Regions from separate parts of the Homo sapiens genome. Here regions 1 and 3 are each linked to region 2. Evidence: promoter capture Hi-C in human tissues and cell types (Jung and others, 2019). All regions are on one chromosome and are shown on one strand. The core of a region is centred on a gene start or on the middle of the fragment in contact, and the rest is flanking DNA. Distances in the headings are between cores, read along the strand shown. Region 1 has its middle 71 kb from the start of SNTG1. Region 2 holds the start of SNTG1 (syntrophin gamma 1). Region 3 overlaps SNTG1 (syntrophin gamma 1).

What was found. The method cuts DNA at HindIII sites, captures the fragments that hold promoters and counts their contacts. A contact is called where the count stands out against the background at its distance.
Region 1: a contact is called between a fragment that was not itself captured here and the fragment with the promoter of SNTG1 in region 2, in 2 of the 25 tissues and cell types used here (liver and mesendoderm cells).
Region 3: a fragment that was not itself captured here is called in contact with the fragment with the promoter of SNTG1 in region 2 in 2 of the 25 tissues and cell types used here (heart left ventricle and ovary).

What each region holds. Positions count from the first base shown.
Region 1 is chr8:49,838,649-49,842,121 of GRCh38, reverse strand. No RefSeq gene overlaps it. Among named protein-coding and RNA genes, the nearest start is that of SNTG1, 71 kb to the left of the region's middle. RefSeq lists an enhancer at 1-128. The HindIII fragment of the contact is 4,606 bases long and covers 1-3,473 here.
Region 2 is chr8:49,909,865-49,913,409 of GRCh38, reverse strand. It overlaps SNTG1 (syntrophin gamma 1), which reads right to left and starts at 2,003. Exons shown (of 19, transcript NM_018967.5): 1 at 1,179-2,003. RefSeq lists an enhancer at 2,154-3,098. The HindIII fragment of the contact is 7,737 bases long and covers 1-3,545 here.
Region 3 is chr8:50,018,161-50,021,846 of GRCh38, reverse strand. All of the region lies in intron 1 of SNTG1 (syntrophin gamma 1), which reads right to left. Among named protein-coding and RNA genes, the nearest start is that of SNTG1, 110 kb to the right of the region's middle. The HindIII fragment of the contact is 8,781 bases long and covers 1-3,686 here.

The sequences.
Region 1 (3,473 bases), core at 736-3,235, 71 kb after region 2:
TACTGCCAGCTGTTTCTCCTCCCTGCCAGTTGAATATGGGGTTTTTATAGGCACAGGATGGGAGTGGTGAGACAGGGCCATGAGTGGTTTTGGAAAAGGCAACATTCAAGCAGGAAAACAGGGATGTCAGTTCTCACTTTGGGCCATGGTGTGAGGCTTTTCAGCTTGAAGGTGGGGCTTTGCCAGGGACCTGCCACTGTCTACCTAGAATTTCTCTGTCTCCTGTTGCTATCATAGGTATAGCATGACTTCCCACTCCTGAAGTGTAGGCTGCACATAGTGACCTCTGTCAAAGAATACAATATAGAAAAGGAGAGGAAAGAGTAACTTTGCAGCACAGAATCTTAGCAAACATTACCTCAGCCAGGTGGTCAAGGTCAGTATCAACAGAGATCAGTCATGTTGATGGTGTATACCCTTCGTAGGATGGATGAAAATCAAGCTTCACCTATTCAAAAACCCATAACCCATAACCCCAGTCTGAAATGGAAAAACAGATAAATCCTAACAGAGGAACACTTTACAAATTTCTTGATCAGTATTCCTCAAAACTGTCAAGGTCATTAAAAATAAGGGATATGTGAGAAAGTGGTGCCACCAAGAGGAACCTGGAAGTCACGGTAACTAAATCAAATGCAGAATCCTGGATGGGGCCCTAGAACAAGAAAAGACACTGAGTACAAACTAAGGAAATCTTAATAGATTATGGACTTTACTTAATAACAATGTATCAAAATTGATTTGAATGTTAGACATACAGAAACTTTCTGTATATCTAGTATAGATATACTAGGTATATCTCTATATACTAGATAGAGATACTAGATATACTAGATATATATCGAACCTTCTCAACTTTTCTATTAAAAAATCTTATAAAATTAAAAGTTTCTAAAAAGGATACTTAATGAATTCATTACTTATAAGGAAAAACACAGGAATCTTTTAACATATAAAAATTAGAATCGTATTAAACATAGGATATGAACAATTTTTAATTGAATTTGGTTTATCCACATGGTTGAATGTTATACAGCTATTATGAATAACTTTAAAATGCTTATGTAAAAAATAGAAAATAGTTATATTAAAATATCTAACAAAGCAATAAGAAAATTTTTTAAAAGTATGATTGTATCTGTATCAAATATCCAATATCCACCATAAGCCCAGCTCCTCCCTAAGTTAAAAAGAAAAACAAAAACCAGAGGATAGGAGACAAGCAGTATGTAGAAGCTATATCCCTACTAGTATATACATATTTAACTAAATATTTAATTATAGAAAAGTATAATTCTCTTTTTACTCATTTGATAAAAGTTACTGTGGTTTGTATTATTAAATTACTATGGTTTATATGATAAAAAATAATATATTTTCCCAGGGAAGAGCTACATATCACACTTTTAGAGTATTCTCGATTCCAACATTAAGAATCTCTAAAAATGAGAAGCCATATAATAAGTGGTTTGAGCTGAGTTGTAAAATTACACACGCCTAGGTTTACATATTATTTCCAACCCTTAATACCTACATGAACTTTGAAATATTATTCAATTTCTAAGTCTTGGTTTCTTCATACAAAAGGGAGAATAATTATATCTACCAAAGAATTTATTGCAGTGCTTGAATCATGGTTAATGCTAAGTAAATTCTATAAGAGATATTTCATTAGAATAAATTAAAAATACATATTAGTCTGAATTCTTCTGAAGAAAGATGAGAGAAGATGAAGAAATTCAAAGAAACTAATGGACAACATTAAGTTATACCAGTTTCCCTTGAATTCAGATCCCTGAAGGATCATAGGTAGACAGGAACATCATTCATGATAATTGGGAAAAGAGAGTTAATAGGAGTCCAAGGGTGAAAGACAAAATTCCAAGGAAACTCTGAAGGGAATGAATAAATCAATACAAACCTAGAACCAGCTCAGCAAAAAGCAGAGCACAGATCCCGAGCCTCAAGAACAGATAAGACTAGAGAAACGACGTCAATATTCAATGCAAATATTTAAAAATAATGATTGCATCATTTGCTTGAGAAAAAATTTGAAGATGTTCAGAAACGTGAGCTAGTGACACTGTTGTTTTATTAGCCTGGGGAGATATGTTTCCATGTAATTCATGTCTTCCTTACCGCAACACTACTGTACACACACATTTTTGTATAAGATGTAAATTTGTGAAGCATTAAAATAGCTGCTTCGAAAATCGACATTTGTGATCTCAGAAAAGAGAGCTCAAGAAGCGATGCAGTTCCCAAGATAACACAGGACCTGAGGGCTGCTCAGCTTCAGTTTGGCTAGGAAGACAGGACCATGACAAGAGGAAACATGTTGTGTTAGTGAGATGACAACTAGGATTTTGGGTAAGAATTTGGGTCTACAAGGAATATGGAATTGGGGTAACATAATCAAGGAATAATTTAATTAAAAACCTGTATAGTGAGAGTATGCCAATGAGGAGCTTCACTAGAAGTAGCAGAAAGAGACTCCATAAAGTTTCACTGAAGGAGATTGTAATTACTTTAACAGTTGTTTTTAATTCACACTTCTTTGCATATAGAAATCTTTAGAGTCCAACACCATTAAATGTACTGATTGGAACTTTTCATGTTTCAATTATAGTAAAAGCCATTGAGCAATGTTCATAGGGACTCTGTAGTCCAGCATTTATGCAAAAGTTATTAATTTTTAAAACTAGAATGACTTGGGATAAATATATTTGGTAGTTTCTGAAATCACTTAGGAGTATTTTGTATCATGAAAGTTAATAAATCTGGATAAAATATAAAAACTCAATCATTATTAATCAAGCAATTTTTTAAAAGTCTTTAATGACTGACTTTTCTTTTTTCAATGTTTCAAGCACATCGTCAATATACTTTTTTATTCTCATTTATTATATATTTCCTTTCATCCAAAATTGTCATTCTATGAATGTATTTATGAGCAAATTTGAAGGGATGATTGACCTCAATTGTAATCTTCCCTGTTAAGAATGAATTGCTATGGGTATCATGCTATGGAGAAAGTAGGAATTGATTCTGAATCTCACATACACACATGCCCACACACACATATGCCCTTCCCCCAACATACAAGCATGGAGCTGAAAATAAACACAGTTTAATTCAGATGAAAATCAACCACTTTCAAAATAGCATTAGAAACCAATCATTTGTACCTTGCTTTGTGAAACAAAGGCAAAAACAGAACCCATGCTGTGCATCCAATTACAATAGTAGGCGCACCATGACAAGCTTCACAGCCATTTTCAGATAAGGCCCAAATATGAGCGCAGAGTGAAATTAGCAAACAACAACACAAAGGAAGTAAAGAGAACAGAGAAGAATTGTGTGAGGAAAAGGAGAAGAGAGGCCCATCAGTAGCGAGGCAAGAGTTTGACAGACGGAAGGTGAGGAAGGCAGGTGAACCTGTCACTGATGCACTCAGAAAACAGGGGTCGCCC
Region 2 (3,545 bases), core at 754-3,253:
TTGTGTTAAAATTGAGAAGGAAGGTACGTATAGATATGCATTAGAGCCATTTTACTATCGTTACACACAACCAGTGAAATTAAAAGTAAAACCTAAAGATCTCCTGTAATTTTTCAAAGGGGTAGACTCTTTTCACAGAGTTGATTATGAATATCTCATCACATGTATTTACATGACTGTAAAATTCCATCCTTGCAAGTCAAAACTCTTCACTGAACTGAATGTACTCATTGGAATTGATCGGATTCTTAGTGAAATGTCAGGCACGGGTTACAAATTTGTGTAACTGCTTTTGCCCAGTGAACCCTTTTTATTAAAGCAGAATGCTTATCAAGGTCACTGTGAAAGATTGTAATTTTAAAGCTCCAGGGGAAAACTAGAAATAAGAATCAACAGAAAACAGATTTAATTAGCATTTTAAAGTTTATGGTTTTTCGGGAACCTACTGGTCCCTATCACTTTCTGGATTTCACTGACAAATGTATTTTGCAGAACTAATAAGTTAGAATGATTTTGAAATCCAGCTCTCCTAAAGAGGCACACTAAAGCTTCTCATTTTCTGCTTTCTGGCAGATCAGGTTTGAGAAAGCAATCTTGAGCTTTCAAAGGCTGGAAAGAGGGTGCTAAGTAAAAATATGAGTGTCTCCTTACGTAAGATCCTACAGGTGTAGGTATACTTGGAGGTTGGCATGGAGTGAGAAATCTGGTGTATATGTATACATGTATTTGTTCCCATGCATAGTTTAGTATATTATAACAATATAAAATATGTTAGAGGGCATGGTTAAACCCTCTCTATTTTAACTTTTTTAGTCTTGCATACTATGTAACACAGACAGGATCACTTTTTATGGCATACATAAGACAACAAAATTATCTTGCCAAACGATTGCATTAGTTTTGGGAAAAAATAAACAAGATATGCCAGATCCAAAAAGATATTAGATAAGCAATAAGAAAAATGGCCAGCTAAAAGTTTACTGTAATTATGTAAGGCAACATGTATGTTATTTTGATTCTTCTTGTCACACAATGATCCAGAAACAATTATTTTAAAACAAAATTGCTTGTCTCCTCGTTAACCCCAGAAAAAATTACACTGCTTATGATCTTTCTGTTAAACCATAAGACAAGTCATTAGAATTTTAAAAAACAAAAATAATAGCGCTATCACTTACCTGCCGAGCAATGAAATTAGATGTCTTTTCAGTCTCTCTAACGTAGAATTTTGAGTAGCTCTCCACCCTCTTTTCACAAAGCTATTTCCAAAACAGTTGCAATCCACTCAAGACCATTCTGTTTATTTCAAGAAGTGTGGACCTTTGAGCATTTCAACCCCTACCGCACGGCCCATGATTTCTCAGAGCTTCTAAGAACTTCGACTTTACTCTCCTCCAGAATTCCTCCCAGACCCCTATAGAAAAATGATTCTTGAAGTTGCTGCTGAGAGTTTAATCTGTGGAGCAAGAGTACTCCTCAGAGTCCTGTCCTTAGGTACAGCAGGTGTAGAGGGAGGGGTACTTTTCATCCATTAAGGAAGGGGGCCGGGAGGCGAGGGGGTAATAGGAGGCACCGCCTTTTAGCTGCGAGGAGCAAGTAGCCCAGCTGCCCGTGGCGACGACAGTGGCGGCAAGGACAGCGGCGGCGGCAGCGTAGTTCCGTCCCTGTGGCTGCAGCTCAGTCCGGAGACGCTGTCCATCCCCTCTGGTGCTGAAGTAAGGGGACGGGAGCCCCTAAGCGCAGGTCCAGGTCGCACTTTCCTCCACCAGCGAATCCAAGCAGCAGCTTCCTTGTCTTCCGCCCTAGCCTTCTCCCCTCCGGTTCTTTTTTTTTTCTTTTTTCTTTCTTTTTTTTTTTTGTAGGGGCTAATTGTTTCTCCAAATTAACAGTCTCATACTTATTTGGTGACAACGTTTCTGGAAAAACAGGAATCCCTGGGAAATAACATCTGAGCCTCCCCTGACTTTTCAGTGGCCCTGCACGAGTTTCCTAATGCCAGAAATGAAAGAAAACGCACGCACAGGGGCGCGCACATACACGCACGAGAGAGGCAGAGAGAGAGAGAGAGGAAGAGAGAGAAAAAATATATAGATTTGTACCGTGGAAAATCCAGAGCTTCTTTGGAAAGCTCGTGGATCTTTAATTACATAAGATGAAAAGGAATATTTTGGAAAACTCCGCAATCTTGATTACCAATTAAGGGGACCACATTCAAATTTTGAGAAACCCAATTTGAAATTCCTAAATTAAACCCAGTGAAGATTCTTAGACCCTCCACGCGGAAACGATAGGTTATTGTTAAAATTTTAAAAGACAGAGAATGAAAGAATGAAAAAGACAGGAAAAAGCATCTGCACTCGGCTACCTTTTAAAACGCTGCTGAATTGGATCGGGATCGTTGCAGAGCCTCTCAGAGGATCCGGCGAACGCAGCTCCTGTGAGTGTCAGCGCTGAGCTCAGCGAGCAGGCAGCTTGGAGGCCCAGGGCAGTGCTAGCGAGTCGCCCACAGCCTAGGCTCCTGCAGTGGGGGCAGAAAACGGCTTATTTCACAAAGGACGGGATAAAGAAGGCACAAAGACAGTCAGAGGGCTCGACAATCTCTGCCTTTGTAAAGCCAGAGCAAAGCCCAATTTACGTTGTTTTTTTTGTTGGCTTTTCAGCCCATTTTCCCTCTGGTCTCCCACGCTGCCCCCTCGCCTCCCTACTCCGGAATCCGCGCTCTCCCGGGCCTTGCAGGCTCTTCACTCCCGCTCTTGGCAACTGGCTGACAACGAGCATAAAGAAGGGTATGGGTGCGTGGTCCCGAGTGCTGTCACCCAGGGCTCAGCCACCCACACTCGGCAACGGGTGCAGACGCCAGTGAACTGAGACGGGAAGTTGAAATACATAACGTTGAAACTGTTGGAAAACTGGTCAAAACCAGGGCCATGTGGACCTTTGAAACTATGTGGAGTAAAAGGGGAAAATGGAAAGAGCGAGACTGTAACACCGCCCGCCCTTGCAGACTCCTAACTTGTGCAGTGTAGATTTCTGCACAAGGAGGTTATTGATAGACATGAGAGGAAATTCGAGAAAGACTGGTGAGGGGCGCTGGTGTGTGTGGTGGGGACGGGGGTCCGGGAGGGGCGGGGCGCAACACTAATTTCTCCCGGGCTGTGGGAAGGGGCCGGACGCCTGCTCCTGGCCTCCCTTCCCCGGCGACTTCTCAGGTTCTTCTTCCTGTTCTGACACTACAGGGAAGTCCTAGACGTTGTGCTTTCCTCCCACGCTTGCTTCCATCAAGGATTAGAGCGCGTTCCCGCTGGTCTGGAACCATCCATTCCAGGTAGGGGATCTTCCCTCCCGGGGACATTGCGCTCTCCAAGCACCGGCCTGCGGCGCGCGCGGGGGACGGGCGAGGAGGCGGCACAGCCAGTGGAGTTCCAGTGGGCTCCCTGGAGGAGAAACGTTACTGAGCCGGGAATCACTCGGGACGGAAAACCAAACAGGCCGCGTATTTACTCACAGGAAAAGGCCAGACTTTGGTTGGACTTTGAGCCATTTTG
Region 3 (3,686 bases), core at 685-3,184, 110 kb before region 2:
GCCTCAGTATTGCAATTAGCTGGGGCTACAAGCACAAGCCACCATGCCTGGCTAATTTTTATAAGATATTTTCTGTAGAGATGGGGATTCCCTGTGTTGCCCAGGCTGGTCTCAAACTCTTGGGGATCAAGTGATCCTCCCACTTTGGGCTCCCAACATGCTGGGATTTTGGGCTTGGGGCACCATGCCCCACATACAGTGTCCAGCAGAAGATGCTTGATAAGGGTTATTTGTGATCATGAAACCACATAACTGATCAGCACCATGATACAGGATTGACCCTCCAGACCCACTAGAGTTCCCAGAGTTCTCATGTTAGTTAATACATACAGAAAATTTCATTAGCTTAATTAACTCATGGGAGAAATGAATTCATCAAATTAAATATTATAATCTAACAAGGATTTGAGGAAATGAGCCATTGACCATATATATGGTATTAGTGGGAGAAAGTAAGAGAAGTTTCAAATCTGGAAAGGATAAACTAGAATCTGTACCAGCTGTGACAACAGACAGCAAAACAAACAAGAGTAAAATTGACAGGATTCAAATAAAGGTGGTGAGAAACAATGACAATGTAGATACAATTGAGGAAGTCATGTTGGAAGATTATAGATATAACTTATAGCTCTTTCATTTGAAAATCAACTCTGGAATCATGGAAATTTGCCAGAGCCAGTTTTATTGAGTGGGATTAGCTCTGGTGAACACCCACAGAAAAACCTTAGGAGTACTCAGGCTTTTGTGGGCAAAAGCAATACCTGGAACTGTGGTTCAAATGCCACCTCCTCTGCCCAACCAAAGATATTCATCACAGTAGATTAAGAGTAGCCCCTAGTCATATCAATGGCTAAAAGGATTCTGAGGTAGCAGGCCTGTAGATTGCAATTTGAGAAACTCTAGATTGCCCATATCTAAAATGTTAGATTAGGATGAAGAATCCATTTATAATGGAGTTTTTCATTTTCCCATCAGATTTCTTAGAATCCATGGGCATATCAACTACATAAGTAAATAATGCCTTTTTGTCCTACATAAAGTAAAAAATCCAAGGTGCATTGGATCGTCCATTTATAACCTGAGAATAAAAGCATTTTCACTCTCCTCCCTATCATAGCTTCTCAGATTACAAATCATCAATCTATGCAGGGGTGTAGTCTATGCATTTTCACCATCTGCTCTCCAATAAATAGCCCCTTTGTAAAAAGATGTGTGTGTATCAAAACCAATCAAACAACAATAAAATCCATGCAGATTAATGATGTGCCTAAATGAATTAGACAATCATTATTATAAGAAGAAAATATTTTACAGATAAAATATATTTCAAAGAGAATGCAATTGAAACTTTATTATCTCCTAAATGATTGCATTGTACATATAAAGTTTACTATTCACAAAGGTAATTAATAAACTTGGCTTGGCTGTGCTTGCATTAAAACCAATGATTTTAAAGAGAGATGAATAGCAGCCTGGCAGCTGTGTAGGAAGCCTTGTCTGTGTCTCCCATCTAAGACCTTGTGTAAATATGTCAAAACCAATCCCAAGAAAGTAAAGGCTTATTATTCACTCTGTACTGAGGGAAGCGTTATCTTCTCTAATTAAATGAAAAAACAAGTAATACAAGATAAAAGAGGAGGAGGGGAAGAGCTTTACATCAAAGCAAAACATTTTCCTTTAGGATTCCAGATTTGTCAATGCTCAGTAAGAAATAACCATTCCAGGTGCTGTTTAATACACAATGTAAATGGGGAATCCCATGCTGAAGATAGAGTATAGTGGCACAAAAGGCTCAATTAGTTCCTGATTTTTTTTCTAAAGGTTAACAATAGAAGTGGTCATGGATTCTGCTGTCAAATTGCCATCTGTTTTAGTGTCTTAATAACTTTGGAAAGATTACAATATTTTCACAGCCTCTCAGTTTGACAAGTGGGATAAAATAACACCTCTGTTTAGAGGACACTCTTATGTCTCTTGACATGCATGATAGCACTGCTTATGATGTTTCACACCCAGCAGGACCTCAGCATAGACAACAGCTATGCAAACACTAGTTTGTACAATTGTATTTCAATCTCATATGCCTACAGTCATTTCCTCATTATCATATTACTCTCTACTCTTAACATTTCCTTGTGTCTTTGGGGGGTTATTTGATTTTGTTTATGTTTTCACAGAATGTATGAATCAGTTTTATCAGGTCTCTTTCTTTGAATTAAGAGGTTCTTAAAGTGAATTGAAAGAACCCATGCATGGATACATGAATGAATGGGCACATGAGTGTATGATGAACAGATGCATTAATAGTTCAGATAAATTTTTCATAGATAGATACAGAAAGCAAGATAAACTAAGAGACTTTATTAAGAACAAGGGGGAAGTGTAAAAAGAGCTTCTTTGGATTTCACTCAACTAATACACTGTTCTTTATCCATCTTAAGGTAATTTAATACATTGCAGGAACCTATGCACACTCGTTTGTATTTTCTGTTTATAAGTCTGTCCCTGAAAACCACTCTCAAGACTGAACGTCTTACCAAGTAAAAGAACTTACATCATTTTCTTCAAATCTATCAGAAAGACAATGAAAATTTTTCTGCAGCTTTACTGAGACACATTTCACATACTATAAAATCCATCCATTTAAAATATTCACTTCCATCTTAGTATATTTACAGTGTTGTTCAGCCTTTATTGTAATAGAATTTTGGGACCTTTCTCATCAATTACAAAATAATTCCCACACGTATTAGCAATCATTCATCTTCTCTTCTTTTCCTTGACCCTTCCCCAGACCCAGCTTTGTCAACTTCTAGTCTACTTTCTATCTCTATTTTTGCTAGGATATTATTTTATTTCCCTTGGGTATATACCTAGGAGTAGATTTGCTGGATCATATAACAATTCTATGTTTAATTTTTTGAGGAACTGCCAAATTGTTTTCACAGTGGCTTGCACCAGTTTTCAGCAGCAATGTACAAAGGATCCAATGTCTCCACATCTTGGCCAACACTTGTTATTTTTTGTTTCTTTGTTTATAACCATCTTAGTGAGTGTGAAGCAAAACTGTGGCTTTAATTTGCATTTATCTAATTTATCTAGATCCATATATATGATGTATTAACATATTCTTATGTTCTATGCATTGTTTTCTCACTTTCTTGGTGCTCTTTGATACACAAGTTTTTAATTTGATAATGTCCATTTTATCTATCTTTTTTGCTTTTGATATCATAAGTAAAAAGCGAAACAACAACAGCAAAAACATTGCCTAACACATAGTCAAGAACGTTTACTCTTATGTCTTTTTCTAGTTTTATTACTTTAGATCTTACATTCATGTCTACAGTCCATTTTGTGTGGATTTTTGAGTAAGGTGTGAGGTAGAGGTCAAAACTCATTCTTTGCATATCCAGTTGTCCCAGGAACATTTGTTAACAAGAATTTTCCCTCTCCATTGAATGATCTTGGCACTGTTGTCATAAATTAGTTGAGTGTAAATGTAAAGTCTTACTTCTGAAGTGATCTATACTTCTATCCATATGCCAATACCTCAGTGTCTTTATTACTGAAGCTTAAAATAGGTTTTGACATTGGGAAAGGTGAGACCTCCATAAATATTCTTCCTCAAGCTTGTTTTTACTATTCTGAATCATTATCTTTCCATACAAATTTTATAAGCATCA